Linked DNA regions of Homo sapiens: region 1 is linked to region 2. Evidence: promoter capture Hi-C in human tissues and cell types (Jung and others, 2019). All regions are on one chromosome and are shown on one strand. The core of a region is centred on a gene start or on the middle of the fragment in contact, and the rest is flanking DNA. Distances in the headings are between cores, read along the strand shown.

Region 1 (6,063 bases), core at 3,073-5,572, 360 kb before region 2:
CCCACTGGGTGTGGCTATGTGTTTTTCTGGTGATACTCAAGATTCCATCTCTCTGGGTCCCCCAAACCGTATGTTTTGTCTTTCAGTGCCCAGAAAATTATGAGAGACCCCAAACTCCTACCAGTAACGTTGCTTAAATTAGCAAGAGACAGCTTTTAATTTCTTGTAACCCAGATCCCTAAATGACAGTCAGGCTACAGAAAAGCCACAGCGGCCACCTCTAAGGAGCTGGCACCTACTGTTCCCTGAGGTTAAAATAATCCATTCTTTCAGGAGAGAGACAAGAGAGAGATGTTATTAGGGAACGTGCCAGATCTTCTGGCTTTCTGGAAAATTACTGGGCTATAGTCTAACTATTAGAAATCAATCCCTTAAGATCCCAGTAGCCCTGGGGAATAGGCAGTGTGGAAAAGGGCAAAGAAGAAATTAATTGGGTGGAGGACAGTACTAACATTTGCTGGGCATACTCTGTGCTGAGCAGTTCTTCATACACTCCATTTAATCCTCACGGGAACACTGTCAGGCAGATATTCCTAGCCCCAGGTCACAGACAAGGAAACTGAAGCTCAGAGAGGTGAAGTTACTTGCCCAAGACACAACCAAGGTCTGGCTAACTCTAACACCCATGTTCTTCTTTGCCACTGCCCTACCCTGTGTGGCCTTAGGTGAGTCTCTCTCTCTCCTTCTGAGCATCAGTTTCCTCTCCCTGAGATGGGAATGGCTTGCCTGGCTCACAGAGGCTTTGGAAGGATCTAGACTCCTAAGTGCTTAGAAGCATGCCCAGCACCCAGCCTGGGACTGGGATTGCCTTTTTTGTCATCCTCAAAGCTGACAACCTTGGAGCTCTGAAAGAAGAAAATCCAAGGCCCCGCTGAGGGACGCGGGTGTGCCTCTGGGGCGATGGGACAGAGGAAAATCACTGGGTTCCCTCAGGTCTCCAAAGGAGGAAGGAGGAGAGGAGGCAGAGGGAGGTAAGCTGAAGGGGGAGGTGCCTCGGGTGTTGCTGTTTTTGGTGACTGCTCAGCTGACAGCTTTCCAACCTGAGAAACACACATACACAAAGTCTAACCTCCTCTGGCTTAAAATAGAGCCACTGAACCAAAAATGCCAAGCACAGGGCAGAGTCATCTGCCTGACGGAGCCAGACAGCTCCCCCATGGCCCCAGTAACATCCACCCCCAGTGGGCACACCTGACCAAGCGCCTCTCAGCTGCGCATCATGGGGCCCTCACAACAGTGGGCAAGCAAAGCCAGCCACGGATCCTCGGCCCCATCCCGGAGACAAGGCAAGTGAGAGCCAGAGAGGCGATGGGAGGGGGATAAAGCCAGCAGCATCTGGCCTGACAAGGATCATGACCTGGGGAACCGGACAGCCCTGAGTTCAATCCTGGCTCAGCCACAGCCTGGCTGGGAGGACTTGGCAGGTTAAGTATCTCTTGGCAGGTTAAGTGCCTCTGTGTCCTGGGCTGTAAGGTGAGAGTCCTGTGAGTGATGTCTGTGATTATGCCTCGCACAGGCAGAGTGTTTGGCCCTGTCCCTGCTTCTGGAAAAAGAATTTTCGACATCTGCACACAGACAGTTGTGAAAAAGGAGGAGAAGCAGCTACTGGCTAAGGGGCACCTGGATAGTGACACAAAACAGCTTCTATAATCCTCTACATGGTCCTATGGGGTGAGGGTCATTACTACCCCCGTTTCTCAGATGAGAAAACCAAGGCACAGGGAAGTACAAGTGTTCTGTTTATGGACACCTAGTGGTATGGTTTGGCTCTGTGTTTCCACCCAAATTGCATCTCCAATTGTAATCCCTGCGTGTTGAAGGAAGGACTTGGTAGGAAGTGATTGACTTATGGAGGCAGTTTTCCCCATGCTGTTCTCGTGATGGTGAGTGAGTTCTCACGAGATCTGATGGTTTAAAAGTGTTTGGCAGTCCCCCTCCTCTCTCTCTCTCCCGCTGCTATGTAAGACATAGCTTGCTTCCCTTTGGTCTCTGCCATGATTGTAAGTTTCCTGAGGCCTCCTCAGGCATGTGGAACTGTGAGTCAATGAAACCTCTTTCCTTCATAAATTACCCAGTCTCAGGTAGTTCTTCATGGTCGTGTGACAACAGACTAATACACCCAGCTAGGAAGTGGAGGAGCTGGAATTCAAACTCAGGTCTTATTGACTCCAGCTGTGTCCACAACCATGCCCTCATTAACTCTCCCCTGAGTGGGCCCTGCCCTTCCCCTAAGATCAGGCCATTCCCCACATCCCACTGTCTCCACAAACTCTTTTCGGGCTCTTGTTGGGCTGTGGGTCCTTGGAGCCCCACTCACTCCGACTCTGAGACTTCAGCCCAGGTTTCTGCTCCTCTGAAGTCTGAGCAGAAATCGGAATATTAAACTTACTGATGCTGTTGCTAAAAATCAGGCTGAGGTAGTGGCACCAGCACGCTGCTTCCAGCCCACTGAGCTTCATCCTGCTTCTCGGGAGAAGAAGGGGTCCAGGCCCTCTCTACCAGGTACTGGGGCCCAATTCTGCCTGGGAACTGAGTCGGACAGGCACTGGGTTGGACATCCCTACAGGCCCGGGCGTCTGCTCACTTGTGATATCTGTAACAGTGGCTCACACTTCTAAACAAATCCTCAGGGCCAAGCTCAGCTCTCCGGCTCCACATCTACTGGTTCATTTAATCCTCACACCCACTGTATTAGTTCCCTGTTGCCACTGCAATAAGTTATTACAAACTTAGTGGCTTAAGGCAAATGTATTATCTTCTAGTTCTGTAGGGTGGAGGGCTACACAGGTCTCACTGGGCTCAAATCAAGGTATTGGCAGGACTGAGTTCCTTTCTAGCGGCTTCCATATGGAAGTATGTCCTCCTCTGGGACCTGGAGGGCCTAGGCGGCAGGCTGGGCCTCAGGGGCTTAACATACGTCAGCGACTTAATACAACAGAAGCTCAAAACTGGGGCTCCTGATTGGGGGTTGGGGGACAACCTTGCAATGTGTCATTCAGCCCCAGGTTTTTCCCACCTTGTGGGCTCCCTCTCTTCTAAAGACTTTAGTTCTCTGCATTCAGCCGTCTGGTGGGGGAAAGAGATGGAGCACGTGTAGGGCAGGGTTTTATGGGCCAGGCCTGGAAGTGGCATATGTCACTTCTGCCCATGTTCCATGAGCTAAAGCTTGGTCACATAGACCCTGCTAAGTGCAAGAAAGGCTGGGCAATGTGGCCAGCTGGGCGCCCAACTCCACCTCCCCGGTGCATCCCGGATCCCCTCATTTCTCTCCATCTTCACACATTTGGACTACACTAGCCTTCGAACTGGCCTCCACTCCTAGCCACCATCCCTTTTCCCCATGACAGCCAGGGGCTCTTTAAAAAATATGAATCAGATCATTGTGGTGGTGTTGCGTGTGTGTTTGTTTGCCTGTGTTTGTAATACAGCCTTTCCATGGCTTTCAATAAACCCACATAAGGGCTTGTAAGACCCTGTGTGAAGTTGCCTCTTTGCCTTCCTTCTGCTCCCCCAAAGTATCTGCCCCCCAGTTCTCTGGGCTCCAGCGACACCGGCTCCTCTGCTATTCTGGCTGCCAAGTCATGCTCAGTTCTGTTTTAAGCACCACCTTAGATGGTGGGGTTCACCTTCCCCAAGAAACTATCCCTTTTCCTTCTTTCTCACTCCTGTCTTAAATTAGTTTCTTGTTTGTTAGCTGGCCCTCCTCACTAGGATATCACTTTTACTTACAACAGGAATGTTGTTTGCACCAGTAGGTGCTTGGTAAATATTTGTCAGAGGATTGACTGACTGAATGAAAGAAGGAAGGAAGGAGAGAAGGAAGGGAAGAAGAGATGAAGGGACGAAGGGAGGAAGGGAGGGACGGAGGGAGGAAGGGAGGGACGGAGGGAGGAAGGGAGGGACGGAGGGAGGAAGGATGGGAGGGAAGAAGGGAGGGAGGGATGGGGAAAGGAGTGAAAGGAAGGAAGGAAGGAAAGGAGGGAGGGAGGGAGGAAGGGAGGGGAGGGGGGAGGGGAGGGAGGGAAAAAGGAAGGAAGGAAGGACGGAAGGAAGGACGGAAGACTGGCACGAGGTCACAACATGAGTTAGTGGCGGGAACAGGACTTCTGCAGGCCCGGGGTTTGGGCCTTTGCTTCAGATCTCACTATTCACAGACACATGAACCCCGGGCAGGCGAGTGGGAGGCGGACAGGGGAGCGGTTCTTCCGGCCCCCACCCGTGGCGATCCCAGCCTCCAGGTTCCCGGCAGTCGCCCCGCCTCGCCCGTCACAACCCTGCCGCGTGGGGCCGGGGTTGGAGGGGGCGGAGCGCGCGGTCCGGGCACACGGAGCAGGTTGGGACCGCGGCGGGTACCGGGGCCGGGGCGCCATGCGGAGGCCGAGCGTGCGCGCGGCCGGGCTGGTCCTGTGCACCCTGTGTTACCTGCTGGTGGGCGCTGCTGTCTTCGACGCGCTCGAGTCCGAGGCGGAAAGCGGCCGCCAGCGACTGCTGGTCCAGAAGCGGGGCGCTCTCCGGAGGAAGTTCGGCTTCTCGGCCGAGGACTACCGCGAGCTGGAGCGCCTGGCGCTCCAGGCTGAGCCCCACCGCGCCGGCCGCCAGTGGAAGTTCCCCGGCTCCTTCTACTTCGCCATCACCGTCATCACTACCATCGGTGAGCCGCCCGGAGCCTCCCTCCGCGCCCGCTCCAGCCCCAGCCGTCCCGGGGCGCCTCTGGGTTTCGGTCCCACCTCTGCCCCCGCCCAGCTGAGCTACTTTGGACGGGTCATTTCGGCTCACCGAGCCTCCCTCATCTCCTTCGCCTCCCTCGTCTCCCTGGTCTCCTTTGCCCCCCTCTGCTGAATGGAGCTGTCAGCCCACGCAGGCAGGGACGGGAGGAATCAGTAAATCGAGTTTGCCAAAAGGCTGACCCAGGAGTGCTCAGAAAACGTCCAAGGGGCTTGGAGATAGGTGAAGCGGGGCTGGGAGACCAAGTGGCTGGATTTGCTTTTCCTTGCCTGGTTGCCTCACACTTGCTGTGTGACCTTAGACGAGTTGCTCAACCTCTCTGAGCCAGAGTTTTCTCTTCTGTAAAATAGTGTCGCTAATCGGCCTTATCTCAGGGCTGTGGTGAGAGTTATTATTCAGGAGACAGACTATGCACAGACAAGGCCTGTGCTAAAACATGACACATACAGAGCACTACAAAGAAAAGATCATTTTTTTATTATTGCAATTGTTATTGTTACCCCATGAGAATGGGGACCCAGTCTGTCTTAGGGACTGCTGTATGACCCGTGCCTAGCATGCAGTAGATGATCAATAAATACTTGTTAAAGGAATGACTGATAACCACAGGCTCTGGACTCTGCCCTCAGGGATGCAGAGCAGTTCCTTTGGAGCATCTGGACCACCAGCTGTTGCCATGACTACCATCTGGCTGGTACCTGCTGAGCCTAAACCTGGGGGAACAGGAAGGAGAGAAGTGGGCTCTGCAGGGCTCCAGGCTTGGTGCCAGCCACTCCCCAGGCTCCAGCTGTGAACGTCCCGGCACCCCCCCTGGGGCTTGGATCACCAGTCCGAAAGCCAGTGCCTTGGAGAAAGTTTCCCCATAATGCTCTTGCAAGTGAATATGAGCTGTGGTTTTTGCAGTGGAGTTAAAAGTATGAGTTCTGGAATCACAGAGACTGGAGTTCTGGTCTCATCTCTATTGCCACCTGCCTTCTCTGGCAATTGATTCCACCTGTCCAAGCCCTGGTTTCCCCAAAGGCAAAATGCAATTGTTCCTACCTCACTGGGTGACTGCCAGGTTTCAGTGAGGTCAAGCATGTAACATGCTTGGCACAGTGCCTGAAGCCAAGTAGGCACTATTCATTTGTAATAATTCATTATTTGCCAACGTGGCTCCAGCTCTTATTCAGCTCTTTTGCCCCCTCCTGTCCACATGGACACCCCTGCTTCCTATCTTGGTACACCTGAGACCCTCCTGGTTACCGTGCCCACTGGTCTGGGATGCCATCAACTTGTTCTCTCTGCCTTTATCTACATTCTTTGGAGGCTTGCCATGTGGTTTTGGCCTCTTACCCT
Region 2 (6,355 bases), core at 486-2,985:
TAAAGCATCTGTAGAGTCAGCCAGACCTGACCTTGAATCTTGACTCTCTTGTGTCACCTTAGGCAAGTAACATCACCTCTCTGAGCCTCTGTGAAATGGAAATAAAAATATTCACCTCAAAGTGTGGTTATGAAGATTAAATGACCTAGTGTCTTTCTTGGGCTTGGCTCACAGAAGGAATTTAATAAATTATTCACTGGTGTCACTATCTTCTGGAGTCAGGCAAACCTGGGTTTATCTCCACCCCTGACGCACCTGGGGCCTTGAGGAAGCTATTTGTCCTCCAGGTCTCAATTTCCTGCACAACGTAGATAATAGCACCTACCTCCAGGGATGACTGGAGGATTAAGGTAGATTATAGAAAGTGCTCAGCCTTAGTGGATACTCAGGAAGGATTTAGGTTCTTCCACTACCCACTGACTCCTGACTCTGCTGGAATTGGGGGCTAGTGACACCTCCTCACCACTGGCAATCTCATTTGCACTGTGGGTTCAGTAATGCCTAGACTAGGGATTAAGTGTGTGTAAAGCACCTGGGCTTGGCATTAAATGGATTTGGGGTTCCACCCTTAGCTCTATCACTTGTGTGACCTCAGGCCAGTCTCCTTCCCACTCTGGGCTTTAGCTCTTTTACCTCTAGAATGGGGATAATGTTGCTTTGGATGCATCATTATTGTGGTATATGTCAAAGCCCTGGGAAAACAGTAGATGCTCAATAAATGTTAATCCTGTGTACTTCCCTGTGGTCAGACCTGAGTCTACCACTTACTAGCTGCTGTCCTTGAGTGCATTCGTCGCCCTCTCTGGGCTTGTTTCCCTGTCTGTGGAACCGGGTAGCATCATACTTTCCAGGAGAGGCTCAGAGAATTAAATGATGCAAGGTGTTTATCGGCAGCATGGTCCCTGGCACATAATCAATGCACAATAAACGTGTGATGTAGCTCCGCTCCCACCTCCACTTGGATCTCCACCTGCATTTGGCATCAAAAAATGAAATTTCTAATCCAGTTCCATCACCCATTAGAAGCATAATATTGGGCAAATCCCTTCATCCATCAGGAGCTCACTTTCCTGCTCTATGAAACAGGATAATTAATTCAACAAACATTTTCTGACAAGAACCTGAATATCAGTAAGAAAGACCAAGTGACTTGTTCAAAATCACCCAGCTAGTCCATGGCACAGCTAAGGTTGGAGACCAGGTTTTTTTATTTCATTCTCTCTCCACACACTTATTTTGAGCACCTCCTATCTGCTAGTCACTCCTCTGGGCTCCATGCACACCTCACTCGGTTTAATCCCTACACCAACCCTGCCAGGGAGGTTTTCTAATCCCATTTTACAGATGAGCAAACTGTACCAGCCAGGGTCTCCAAAGCGCGGCCACCCCACACTGCTTCCTCCTTGGCGGGGGGTGGGGGGTCTCTTAGAGGGGGTAAGAGCACCAGGAGCCCCAGGCAGCCCCGCCTCCCACTCTGGCTGCCCGGGACCGTCCCGGAGCCACGTCCCTCCCCAAAGGAGGCCCCTTACCTGTGGTGGCACCTCCCGGGCGCCTCGCGTGTCTGTCCCAAAGCCACCGAGGCTGGGAGCCGCTGGCTATACTCGGTCTCGCCTCTGCCCCGCCGGCCCCGCCGAGCCTCCTGCTGCAGGCGGCCCCGCTGCCCTCTCCTTCCTTCTTCCTTGCCTAGTCCCCCGCGGCTGAAGGCCGCATCGATCGCTGCCGGAGGAGGGAGTGAGGCCGCTGGCGGCCGGAGGCGGCGGTTTCTATTCCTGACTCGGCTGGGGGGTGGTGGTGTCTGGAGACTGGGCCTACCTGCAGGGGCATCCTCCGGAGTTACGGGCCGGGAAGGAGGGGTCATTTAGGGCGTGAGGATTCCCCGTAGAGAGGGATTTCAGCAGAAGCTTCTCTGGCAAAGGAACAACAGTAATCATGATTTACTTAATTGAGTGTTTAGTATGTGCCAGGGTACTTCAGCTGCTGCAAGTGATTGATCTCAGTTATTCCTGGCACACACACTTGACAGGGCCAGGATCTTATGTCGCCCATTTTAGGGGTGAGCTCCAGTCATTTTCTCAGACCGTGGGCATCTGAGTTAGGGAGCTGTAGAAGGTGGCCTCATCTCCCTTGGAGCCCCAGGTTCTTCCTAGGTGAGTTGTGAAGCTTGAAACGATCATTTTACCCCTGAGGCGCAGTGTCCTTACCTGCCCACGGGTTCCTGATTCCCACCTGCCAAGTGGGTTGTGAGGGCAGAGAACATGTGCCAAAGAGCTTTGTAGAGGTTGTGAAATCCCCACACATGTACCTGTTGTGTGGCTGCTGTGTGCCTGGTTGGGGAGAGGCTCCTGGAGACTAGGGCCTGGATATGAGCCTTTGCACATATTGTTATTAATAATAATGATAATTACCAACGTTTATTGAGTACTTACCTTGGGTCAAGCACAGACCTCAATCTCACTCAAACTGCAAATTTATCTGTGGGGTAAGTGCTACTATTATTCCTATCTCACAGATAAGAACTGCTTTGAGAGGTGTGGTGACTTGCCGGAGGTCCCATGGCTGACTTCTGAGTCCTCTAGGCCAGCACAGTCCAACACCTATAATGTGAGCCACATATATAATTTTATTTTATTTTATTTTTGATTTTTTGAGATAGAGTCTCACTCACTCTGTTGCAGGCTGGAGTGCAGTGGCACAATCTTGGCTCACTGCAACCTCCGCCTCCTGGGTTCAAGCGATTCTCCTGCCTCAGCCTCCTGAGTAGCTGGGATTACAGGCATGCACCACCATGCCCAGCTAATTTTTGTATTTTTAGTACAGAAGGGGTTTCACCATGTTGGCCAGGCTGGTCTTGAACTCCTGGCCTCAAATGATCCACCTGCCTTGGCCTCACAAAATGCTGAGATTACAGGCATGAGCCACCGCGTCCGGCCCACATATGTCCTTTTACATTTCTGATTGCAACATTTTAAAGAAGTAAAAAACAGGCGAAATTACAGTTACCCCTTAAACAGTGGGGGTTAGGGAAACCACTCCTCCATGCCTAGAAAATTAGAATATAACTTTTGACTCCCCTGAAACTTAACTAGTAATAACTTACTGTTCGCCAGAAACCTTACCAATAATATAAACAGTCGATTGACACATAAATAGTATCTACATATATCTTAGGCATTCACGACATATCTAACTTATTCTTAAGGCTTTTGATATTTCTAGTCTACATGGTTCATCTGTAAGTTTTTTCAAATTGTCACAAATCTCCAAAAATTTTCCAATGTATTTATTGGAAAAAAATCTGCATGTAAGTGGACACTAGCAGTTCAAACTCGTGTTGTTTCAGGATCAACTGTATTTTTAGTGATATATTTTATTAAATCTAAAATATTATGATTTCAACATTGGAATCAGTAAAGAAATTATTGAGATATTTTACATTTTCTTTTTTTTGTACTAAGTCTCTAAAATCCAGTACTAATTTTTCTTATTGCTACATAACAAATTACCACAATTTAGTAGCTTAAAACAATACAAATTTATGATCTCATGGTTTCTGTAGGTCAGAAGTCTGGGCATGGCCTGGCTGGACCCTCAGGGTCTCACCAGGTTGAAGCCAAGGTGTTGGCCAGGGTTGAGGTTCTCATGTGAGCTTCAGAGTTTTCTTCCAAGCTCACAGATTGTTGGCAGAATTCATTTCCTTGTGGTTATAGGACTGAGGTCTCTCTTTTCCTGTTAGCTGTCTCCGAGGGATCAATCTCAGATTCTAGAAGCTGCCCCATAGGCAGTTCATAGCATGAATGCTTGCTTTCTTTCAGGGACATCAGAGTGCTGAATTCCTCTCCTGTAACCAGCCAGAGAAAAATCTCTGGCTTTAAAACTCTCACCTGATTAGTCCAGGCCCACCCAGGGCACTCTCCCTTCTGCCATATAATATACATTCACGGGTTCCACCTACACTTAAAGAGGAGGAGATTATACAGGGATGAGGATCATTGAGGAGGGGTCATCTGAATTCTGCCTCCCATATATAAATCTAGTGTACTAATTTATTTTATTTTTTATTTTTTGAGAGAGATTTTTTGAGATTTATCTATAGCATATCTCAGTTTGGACTAGTCACATTTTATGTGCTCGGTAGCCACACATGGCTCGTGGCTGCCATATTAGACAGCACAGCCCTAGGCTGTGCCACTTTAGTTTTTCCCTCGAAAGAAGAAGTTAGAGCAGGAAGCTGCTTAGTGAGCATCTTGCCCAATTCCCTCATTTGACCAACAGGGAAACTGAGGCAGATTTGCCGAGAAGCAGGTCTTCTGTTTCCTGGCCTAAGAGTTTGTCTGCAGCCTTTGCTACCCCTCAGGACTCAGGAGTTTTCCCTGGAGCTGCAGAGACGGTTTCCAAAATTGAGAGAAAAGACAGACCTATTTCCCAAAGGCAGAAGAGAATGAAACCAGGATCTGGTTTCATCCCCAGATTACACAGTGAGAGGTAAATGAAGTTTTGGTGGAATCTGTGAGCCACAAGAGTGGGAAGGTGGGCCTTATGGGTGGGAAGGACGGGGCATCCCTGTCCTTCATGTACCATGGATGGTCTGTCCCCCAAATTCTCCCTCAGTCCCTGACCAGGTTTAGTCATTGGAATCCATGGGGTTTTACCTTCAGAGTAAGCTTGATTTTGCAGAAAATACAGAAAATTTTGGAATTAAGTAGACCTGGATGTGACGGGCATCTTCTAAGATGTCTCCCAGTGATGTCGGCCTCCTGGTGTTCATGCCCTTGTGCAATCCCCTCCCCTTGTGTGTGGACAGGCCTTACTGAGCTGCTTCTAATGAACAGAATATGGCAAAAGTGATGGGATGTCACTTCTCTGATTAGGTTACTTAAGGTTGTGACTTCCAGCTGGCTTTGATGAAACAAGTTGCCAGGCGGGAAAGGTAAGAAAATGAGGAGGACTTCCAGCCAACAACCAGCCAGGAGCTGCGGTATTCACTTCATTAGTCCTCAAGGAACTGACATTCCGCCAACAACCCTGTGAATTTGAAAGTGGATCCTTCTCTAATTGAGGCTCAGATGAGACTCCCACCATGGCCGACCCCTCGAGTGCAGTCTCGTGAAGCAGAGAAACTGAAGCAGAAGACCCAGTTAAACTGTGCCCGTGTTCTTGACCCATAGAAACTGTGAGATAATACATGTGTGTTGCTTTAAGCTGCTGCATTTGTGAAACCTTGTTACACAGCAATAGATAATGAATACACTGGGTTCGAATCCTGCCTTTGCCACTAAACTGGTGTGTGACCTTGGGCCAAGCACTTCTCTTGGATCTTTATCTTCCTCATCTGTAAAATGGGAACAACACCTACCTTTCAGGATTGAGATGAGGACCAGCACATGCTGTTCCCTCTCCATGAACAACTCCTCCTGCCCTTTCTTTACCCTGCATATCAGTTAGAATTTAACTTAGCTGCGGGAACAGAAACGGAATTACAGTGACTTCACTAGAGAAGAGTTTACTTTTTTTTTTTTTGGCAGGCCAGGGTAGGTACAGCTGCTCATGAATAGCCCTGAAGACCCAGGCTCCTTGTCACTTCCTCCTCCACCATTCTTATGTGACTCATTCGTGCCCACAGCTCCTCTGGGATCCTTTACCGCTTTTGTGCACACAGGCTCCTGGTATGTTTTTCCTCCTGACAGCTGGTATCTGGGGCTTTCCTGAGGCTGCCAGAGCCTGCTATGGCTCCGCACAGGGAGAACCTGAAGTACCTGAGAATGTATGTGCTCCATCTATAGAAACATTTCTTGTTTCTAGAACTGCCCTGTGGGACTTCACTGGATTTCACATCCTCACTGGCTTCTTCTCTTCCTGGTGAACTTCTGTACTCCTATAGCCATTTTTCCTGGAAACATTTCCAAAGCATCACTGTCATATGATTCTTCATCTCAAGATTTATTCTGGGGGAACCCAACTAAGACAATCCTCAAGGACACCAGATGGCTGTTCTAGTGGCAGCAGCCATGTTCCAGGAAGGACACAGGGTAAATGGATGACAGACAAAAGGCCAAGTCTATCTCCTTAGTTAGGAAAACTATAGCTTGCCATGTAGCCCCGCCTAGTAGATTTTTCTTACTTCTGATTGGCCAGTCTTGGGTCACGTGATCATTGTTTGGTGCAAGGGAGCCTGGAGAGGAAACATATTTTTAAAATTTTAATTTACCTTTAAAATTGAAATATACTGTTCCTATGGTAAAGTGCACAACAGCTGAATGATTTTTTTGTAAATAAATGTATGTATCCATTGTAACTACCACCCAGGACAAAATATGGAATGTCACTGGCACTCCAAGAGCCTGGGGGTGGGGTGGGG

Evidence for each region. Contacts are between HindIII fragments. The study calls those that stand out against the background at their distance.
Region 1: the fragment with the promoter of KCNK15 here is called in contact with the fragment with the promoter of KCNS1 in region 2 in 1 of the 25 tissues and cell types used here (lymphoblastoid cells).

What each region holds. Positions count from the first base shown.
Region 1 is chr20:44,741,543-44,747,605 of GRCh38, forward strand. KCNK15 (potassium two pore domain channel subfamily K member 15) reads left to right here and starts at 4,323. Exons shown (of 2, transcript NM_022358.4): 1 at 4,323-4,651. The coding sequence starts at 4,369. It overlaps KCNK15-AS1 (KCNK15 and WISP2 antisense RNA 1), which reads right to left and starts at 4,685. Exons shown (of 5, transcript NR_132377.1): 1 at 4,423-4,685. The HindIII fragment of the contact is 14,439 bases long and covers 1-6,063 here.
Region 2 is chr20:45,099,392-45,105,746 of GRCh38, forward strand. It overlaps KCNS1 (potassium voltage-gated channel modifier subfamily S member 1), which reads right to left and starts at 1,736. Exons shown (of 4, transcript NM_001322799.2): 1 at 1,530-1,736. The HindIII fragment of the contact is 6,202 bases long and covers 1-3,410 here.